2 separate regions of the Homo sapiens genome follow, and region 1 is linked to region 2. The links are contacts of gene promoters, found by promoter capture Hi-C in blood cells and fetal thymus (Javierre and others, 2016). All regions are on one chromosome and are shown on one strand. The core of a region is centred on a gene start or on the middle of the fragment in contact, and the rest is flanking DNA. Distances in the headings are between cores, read along the strand shown. Region 1 overlaps WFDC9 (WAP four-disulfide core domain 9). Region 2 holds the start of WFDC3 (WAP four-disulfide core domain 3).

Region 1 (4,180 bases), core at 503-3,002, 180 kb before region 2:
CCTTCTATTTGTTTCCCTGATGATGCCACCTAAGAAGTCAGTCTCTCCATAAATTTTATTTCCCTGGCCCACAACCCTCCTGCTCAGTGTCTTTGTTGTCCACATTTTCTTATCATATGAACCCAAACTTTGACCCACTAAGGAGCCTTTATTTGTCTTTTCCATTTTTCATGTTCTAAAAGACTCTTCCCCTCCAACTAAATTAACGTGTTAAATATTACCCTTTTGGCATTCATCAAAGGCTCACCCAACTGAGGCACAAAGGTTCTGAAAATATGGGCTTGGAGGGAAGCTCTGTGTTGGTTTTTCCTCTACTGGTCTGATATTGGAAAATATTATTTCCTGCTAGCTGATGGAATATAGACAAAAGATACGTTCCCTTTTCACATACCTAGTGTTGCTTTCAGAGCTGAAAGAGAAAACTTAAAGGAATTGGGAATATCTAACCTAATCTTGCTTGAATATCTCTACTTAAGGAGAGATCCTTTAAAGCCTGATTCTTGACATGCAGGCCCTGGATCAGCTACAATAGACATCCCAGGACTGGGCAGAGCACCCCGTCCCTTTTCACACCACCCACAGGGATCTTTGTTCCAGAAGCTTCCCAGCACAGGCAGAAGCATCACAACTCCAGAGATGAACATGACGAGTAGAAGAATCCAGGGCTTCATGGTGCTCTCTGTGTGTATTTGGGTTAAGTTCTGGCAGAAGGCAAGTCTTTTCCCAATACTGCTAGACGTAGAAAATGGATTGAGGAGAACAGGGTAAGCAACAGGGGTAAAGTGCTTATGACTATCATGTTATTCTTTCCCTTTCTAGTACCCAGTAGCATACCAACCAACTCCCAGGCTAGCCAGTGACTTCCCCAGGTTTCTTCTCATCTCATATTACATACCCCTTCCTTTGCAAAATTATTTCTTATTAAAATGAATTTCTCCTGTCTGATTAAAAACAATAAATCCTCAGATTATATAATATGTAAAATTAAAAATACAAAGAGGAAATAAACAAGCATTAGCAATTCCACCATCTAGAGATAATCAATATATGTCTATACTTTTATGTTGTAGTCATTATTTTTATGAAATTGGACACATCAAGTGTCCTGATATTTTATTTTGAAGCATATGAAACATGATGATGTAAAGAAGTTTTAGTGAAGATCCTAAGACAAAAGGCACTAAAGCAATTTAAGAGGGAATTACAGATAGATAACAGGACTTGAGAAAAGATGATGGCCAAGAACTGTTAGGGGACTCAAAACTTTAATGCACTAAGATGGTCCAAAGTTGGAGGAATTGTAGAGAAGATTTTGAAGGAAATTTTATTGGTAAAAAGCTTTGCTCGTGAAAGCCGGAATGCTGCCTCCTAATTCCAAGTTGAGAGAAAAGGTTTTATGAATACGACTCATTGAGCTTGCTATGTGATCCTAGAAGTCTATGGGAACACAGTAGACTTGAATCATGACTGAAGACTTTAAAGGGTGACTTTAAATCTGGCCAAAGCGGCCTGTAGTAGCAGAGAAGAGGGCTCTAATTTGTGAAGTATCTGAACTGCAAATGGCCAGACGACATTTCATGTTTCCAATGAACCCTTGAAATCTCCCACGAAAGAGTCAAGACCAGAAGCACAGAACCAGCTCATGATAGTATCTATTACACAAGAACTTTCCTACTACTCTTATTGGTCCGTCCTCCCTCTACTCCCTAGGAGACAGAAACTTGCTTTAGTCCAGAGTGGGTGGAGGAATAGAATTACAAAGAGCCAGAGTGGGGGTGGTGGGAGGCGGGGGAGAGAGATTCACCACATCCTGTTCCATAACTGGAGCTTCTGAGGGAGGGAGGAATCCATAGTTCTGAACAATTTATGTAGTTGTGACTAATTTCATGGGCCTGCACATTTTACTTATTATATTGAGAAGATGTTTCATGACTGGAGAATCACATAAAATTTGTGGAGACCTACCTAAATTTTCCTGAAGAAGCAAGGAAATAAACTAACAATTCTGAATGAAATATACAGGGGAGGCAAAAATATGCTCACATCATACAAGTCATGACAAGAATTCAGTCATACTTATTACTATCATTTCCTCATATCATCAAGACCTGAATAGTTTCAATTTCTTCTCGTTATAAAAATGTCCTGATGAACCTCCTTATAGTTAAAGCTTTGGTACATATATTGTTATTTTTATAGCATGAGTTAATGAAGAAAGATTTCTAGGCAAAAGACATTGTCTTTCCCAGGCTTTGGATAATTGCCGCCACATTTCTCTCACTAAGGGTTAGGTTACATTTCCACCTACCGGATATCAAATGCATGTCCCTCCACCCCTTGTTCTACTCTAGGCTATACAAAGGTAATTTTCATCACCACACTATTTGCTGATGGGTATTTTAAGAGGAAAGAACATGGGCCCCAGAGTCAGATAGGCTTGAATTAGAATCCCAACCCCACCAACTCCTAGCCGTGGAGCCTGGGCCAGCCACATAATCCCCAGAGCCTGGTTTTCCCCATCCATATTACAGAAAAAAATATCAATACTCATCTCATCTCATAGGGTCACTGGGAAGATTAAATAATATGTATGAAACACTAAGCATAGGACCTGGAATATAGTATATACTTCATAAATGTTAACTGTCAGCATTAAGCTCAGAATATCCTCCTCTGGATATTTGAAAACTATTTTCAATTACAATTTTTTTCTTTTTACTTTTTTTTTTACACTTAGCATTTTAATCTGTTTAGATTCTATGCCTCTGTGTGTGGAGGGAGACAGGGGGAGTTCATTCACTCAATAAGTACTTATTAAGTGCCTAACTATATTCCAAGTTCTGGGTATTGGAATATATTCCAAGTTCTGGGTATTGGAATATAGTGGTGAACAAAACAGACAAAAATCCTCCCATTTATACAGCTGGCATTCTAGTTAAACAAGATAAGGAAATGCATAGATGGTAATCAGTGGTAAGGAGAAAAATAAGGAAATGGAAGAAAATAAAATAGCCTTCAGCTGAGTGACAGCTGAGGGGTAAGGGAAACTAGAGTATGGGAACAGCAGAAAAATCTTAATAAAAAGGAATAGATAGACATTTTCTTAACACTGTAAAAATTTAACTATTGCAATCCAAAATCCAGCATTCCACATTATAAAACTGAAAGTACTCCCATTAAAATTAGAAATAGGAAAAAAAGATATGCACTATTAAGACTACTTTTTAACATTATTTTCAAGTGTTTAAGCCACTATAATTAGAAAAGAGAAAAATTTGAACTATAAATAATAGAAGAGTGGAAGAGGAACCTAATTACAATGGAAACTTCCCAGCCTTCTCCCATCTACCCCCCTCATTCTCTATTGCTCTACTTTTCTAGAACCAAATAGGAAGGAAAATAAGAGTCAAAGAAAAGGATAAAATTCTGACATGAATTGCATCATTGCATGAACAAGGCAGTGATTTTCCCTCTGCCTGAAAGTCTTTATATTTGTTCAGAAATTTTCAATGAAGCAAAAGAGATTTCTTTGTGCTGTCCAATGTGGTAGCCACTAGCCACTTATGACTGTTCAAACTCATTAAATTAAATCAAAATTCAGTTTCCAGTCATTTCAAGTATTCAATGGTCACATGTAGTTAGTGGCTATTGTCCCCAAAGTCTTTCTCTGATGCTTCTCATTCCATTTATACATAGGACGATGGGAATAGTCTACATCAACCTTTGACTTCTTGTGTGTCCTATTTAACATTCCTTATTTCTCAGGCGCGGAGCCTTTCCATCATCACAGAAAGTTCTACTGAACAATGCTGCTCTAGATGAATCCACCAAAATGACTCTGCTCAAAAGCAGAGGTAATACTAGAAAAATTTTAAAGCTGCCAAATTTTTCAGAGGAGACTTTGAAAATGTATTCTCCTCTTAGCTTCTGTGAAATTTGGAAGGTGAAAAATACAAGTTTTAGGCACATGTCATTAGATGTATTGACTTTTAGACAAATCACTTTTAAGAGATTCGAGCAGAGGCAAAAGCAGCAACATCTTAGCTTGGCAACTTCATCAAGTCATGCTTAGGTAAGCTGGCAGAGACACAGGTTCTTAATGGAGAAGCTTGGAGAGCAGGAATAAGCATCTAAGAGTAGAACCCCCACACACACAAATATCTGATCTGATCTACAATTT
Region 2 (4,385 bases), core at 1,635-4,134:
TCATCACCCTGGCACAGCTCTTTGCATGGGTTCTTATGGGGAGGGCATTCTCCCTCTTTTGCTGCAAAAGATACTATTTGAGTTTGGGGTAACTAGCCAGGCCTCAGAAATGGGGAATGGACCTTCAGCCCCTCCAGGCATCTCTATCCAAAATATTTCTGCACCACTGCACTCTAGCCTGGGTGACAGAATGAGACCCTGTCTCTTAAAAAAAAAAAAAAATTCTGGCTGGGCACGATAGCTCATGCCTGTAATCCCAGCACTTTGGGAGGCCGAGGCGGGCGGATCATGAGGTCAGGAGATCGAGATCATCCTGGCTAACACAGTGAAACCCCATCTCTACTAAAAATACAAAAAATTAGCTGGGCGTGGCGGCGGGCACCTGTAGTCCCAGCTACTCGGGAGGCTGAGGCAGGAGAATGGCGTGAACCTGGGAGGTGGAGTTTGCAGTGAGCTGAGATCACGCCACTGCACTCCAGCCTGGGTGACAGAGTGAGACTCCATCTCAAAAAAAAAAAAAAAATTCTGCAACCACCTTCCCCTCCTCATACACAAATACTAACATATATCCACCACTGCTAAAGGAGCAGCCATCCTGCAGATAACGAGAGAGAAAGGGTGGGATGATCCTGTTCTCATTTAATGAGTTCTAGGGAAAAGCTAGAACCTCTAGTAAGCCCAACTGGAAGTCCTATCTCCTTGTCCAGAGAGGGTAAAGAAAGCCAGGAAGAATGACCCAGGCCATCCTGAGAATCTATTCATCCAGTCCTGTCCTATAGAGATGATCATCTCCACTTACAAGCAACCTTGCTCTGGGAGAAGGCAGGGGATGAGTTCTCCTCTCCTCTAGTCACTTTCTGTTACTGTTGGCCAGGGATCCCAAATGATAGCTCACCATGTTCTCCTGCAGTTATCCAGGATTCCAGAGACCCAAGAGCAAGAAGTGCCTTCAGAAGAAAGAGGCAGCTTAACATCATGATGATGCTGAGAGTTGGGACAAGAGCTCAGTTCAGGCTAGAGGTGTACACCTTGCCCAGAGTATCAGCTGAGGTATGAGCAGGACTAGGGATGGCCCCAAACCCAGTCCCAAAACCTTCCCTTTCACAATACTCCCCAAGAATATCTTCTCCTGACAAGAAGAAGAGGGATTGGCTGCTGGAGTGTGGGAAAATTCCTGGCACTACCAAAGGGGACCTGTGATGGGAGGATCAAATTCTGTAAGCAATATACACAATATTCCTGGATGATGAGAAACCTAGTGGGTGGCTGGAAAAATGGAGGGGTGGCCATTGGAAAAAGAATCAAAGAGAGCCCTAAAGGGCATTGGAAGGACATGGCTTTAGCCCAAATAACAGAGGGAGGGATTCACGACACTACTTAATGGCCAAAGCTAATAACATAACCAAGCATAATAAAATTGTGGCTCCTGTTCATCCTAGCAACCAAGAAAATACAGAATGGAACAGACCACTCAGAAACTATCAAATAGGCCAAGGCGGGCAGATCACCTGAGGTCAGGAGTTTGAGACCAGCCTGGCCAACATGGCGAAACCCTGTCTCTACTAAAAATACAAAAATCAGCTGGGCATGCTGGTGCATGCCTGTAATCCCAGCTACGTGGGAGGCTGAGGCAGGAGAATAGCTTGAACCCAGGAGGCAGAGGTTGCAGTGAGTGGAGATCATGCCACTGCACTCCAGCTTGGGTAACAGAGTGAGACTCTGTCTCAAAAAAAAAAAAAAGAGAGAAAAGAAACTATCAAAAACCTACAGAAAAGCAGTAGTTGAGTTTGTTAAGAACTAATGAAAAGCACCAAACACCTACATCTTTGTCCCTCTAACCCACACAGGCCATTCTTGGACTGTATGAAGTCTAGCTGGCAGAACCCAAGAGAAGTTGCTATGTATGACTCAAATAGTCTGCCCACATATACCTCCTTTATTTCTTTTTTCTCCATTTCTTTTTTTCTTTATCTGTCCTGGTCATGCCTTTGGTTAGCTGTGATACCTAATGGTGTCCACTGGCACTGCTTAGTCCTATGGGCAGGTACAAGGTAAAACCTCCTTAATAGGATCAAAAAGTTTGGAGCCAGGAAGTCGCCCTTATGGTTAGAAGGCTGATGTTGGCTCATGGAGATAATTAACATTTGATGATGACCTCATATGTGCCTAATATGCTTTTTTTTTTTTTTTTTTTTTTTTTTTTGAGACAGAGTCTCCCTCTGTCCCCCAGGCTGGAATGCAGTGGCGCGATCTCGGCATAATTAACATTTGATGATGACCTAACATGTGCCTAATGTGCTTTTTTTTTTTTTTTTTTTGAGACAGTCTCCCTCTGTCGCCCAGGCTGGAGTGCAGTGGCGTGATCTCGGCTCACTGCAACCTCCGCCTCCTGGGTTCAAGAGACTCTCCTGCCTCAGCCTCCCGAGTAGCTGGGATTACAGGTGCCCACCACCACGCCCGGCTAATTTTTATATTTTTAGTAGAGACGGGGTTTCGCCATGTTGGCCAGGCTGGTCTCGAACTCCTGATGGCAAGTGATCCTCCCGCCTCGGCCTCCCAAAGTGCTGGGATTACAGGCGTGAGCCACCGCCCCTGGCCGAGCATATTAAAATCTAGTTTTCAAAAACTGAACTGCAGGCGCCGCTGTACCAAACGCTTCCCTCTGCTCCCCAACCCCAGCCTACAGAAAACTGGTCCCTTCCTCCTACCCCGCAGTCATCCCCAGGCCTTGGCCCAGCGGGAAACATCCCTTGACTGAACCGCCACTGAACACCCACACTGCACAATCGAGGCGCAGCCCTCCCGAGAGGAAGCCCCAACGACCTCCACCTACAAGGCCTCTAAGTGTAACTGTCCTGGGCGAGGCGCGGCGGTTCGGTTCCCATGGTAACCCCGCAGCTCCAGCGTCGCGCTTCCGGGCGGACGAGCAGCGCGCTCCAGTGACGTCACGGCGCCACTTTCCGGCCGGTGACAGAGTCCAGCGGAGTTGTGGGGGCCGGGGGCGCCATGGGAGCCACTGGCGACGCCGAGCAGCCGCGGGGACCTAGCGGGGCCGAGAGGGGCGGCTTGGAGCTGGGGGATGCGGGCGCAGCGGGGCAGCTGGTTCTTACGGTGAGGGCGCCCCCGGTGAGGTCTGGGCTCAGGCCGGGCACGGCCTCGGGGCTCCTGGGACCCTGGCCCGCGGGCGAGAGAACGCGGAGGCTGGAGCTGCAGAGGGGGTTGGCGTTTTCGCAGCCCGACGACCTGGATTTAAATTCTGGTGCCGCCCTCCTAGCTAGGTGACGTGGGCCATCTCTGTCAACCCCCTGAGTCCCAGGATCCTCTTCTATAAAATGGAAATGATTAGTACCTGTCTCATAAAACTTGTTGTGGGATGGGAAGATAAAGGCGGGTACAACGCCCCGGACATCACCTGACACAGAGTTGACCCTCGGTAAATACTGCTTCCCTTCCTCCTGCCGTGCCAGAAGGCAGGGTCGGGACTTTTAAGGCAGGAAACTTCCTCAGTTCCTCTTTTGTGGAGGAGGCCTTACAACTATCGTCCCACCCCAAGGCGGGAGAGATGGTGACGGATCTGAGAAGCAGGGATGTCCAGGTTTAACTTCATACCCACCCTCCACCTCCACCCCACCCCAGTGTCACAGGCCGCAGTGACATTTGTTCCGTTGGTCCCCACAGAACCCTTGGAACATAATGATAAAGCACCGGCAGGTGCAGCGGAGGGGCCGCCGCTCACAGATGACAACAAGGTAAGGCTGGCCCTGCATGGGGCTTATATCCCAGCCACTGGCTTGCATGGCAGATTTGGGATCCCCAGTGCACAAGGCTATGGAGATCTACAGCCGGTAGAAAGAGCACAGGACTGAGGAAGAGGAGACTCCGATTCTGTAACTCTGTGTGATCTTGAACTAGTCAAGTCACTTCCTTCTCTGAACTCACGTACAAAATGGGGAAGGGCACAGGAGATGGGTTGTGGAATAAACAATACCTAAGATCCCTCACATTCACTGGCTCTGTGGTTGAGGGCTCTAAAGAGGTCAGTTAGCATGGAGTTTAAGAGAACAGGCTCTGGAGTCAGACAACTGTGTTCTCATCAACAGACTCTGATGAGCCCGTTTTCTCAACTATAAAGAGGGATTAATAGTATGCATGTCAGGGAAGGGAGAGAGCACAAGGTGGGCCTTTGGGATGCTGATAGTGGTGAAATGGATGTTCACTATAATTACTCATTAAAGTGTATAGACTTTTCTGTATAAGTATTATATTTCATAAAAACACTTTGGGCCGGGCGCGGTGGCTCACGCCTGTAATCCCAGCACTTTGGGAGGCTGAGGTGGGTGGATCACCTGAGGTCGGGACTTCCAGAACAGCCTGACCAACATGGA

What was found. The method cuts DNA at HindIII sites, captures the fragments that hold promoters and counts their contacts. A CHiCAGO score of 5 or more calls a contact.
Region 1: a fragment that was not itself captured here is called in contact with the fragment with the promoter of WFDC3 in region 2 in 2 of 17 cell types (M2 macrophages and M0 macrophages); the score reaches 6.5 in M2 macrophages.

Annotation. Positions count from the first base shown.
Region 1 is chr20:45,609,511-45,613,690 of GRCh38, forward strand. WFDC9 (WAP four-disulfide core domain 9) reads right to left here. Exons shown (of 5, transcript NM_147198.4): 3 at 581-729. The coding sequence starts at 671. Among named protein-coding and RNA genes, the nearest start is that of WFDC10A, 18 kb to the right of the region's middle. The HindIII fragment of the contact is 832 bases long and covers 1,337-2,168 here.
Region 2 is chr20:45,788,999-45,793,383 of GRCh38, forward strand. It overlaps WFDC3 (WAP four-disulfide core domain 3), which reads right to left and starts at 2,885. Exons shown (of 7, transcript NM_080614.2): 1 at 2,834-2,885; 2 at 896-984; 3 at 1-61. The coding sequence starts at 977. DNTTIP1 (deoxynucleotidyltransferase terminal interacting protein 1) reads left to right here and starts at 2,956. Exons shown (of 13, transcript NM_052951.3): 1 at 2,956-3,111; 2 at 3,679-3,749. The coding sequence starts at 3,007. RefSeq lists silencers at 3,039-3,308, 3,519-3,658. The HindIII fragment of the contact is 10,060 bases long and covers 1-4,385 here.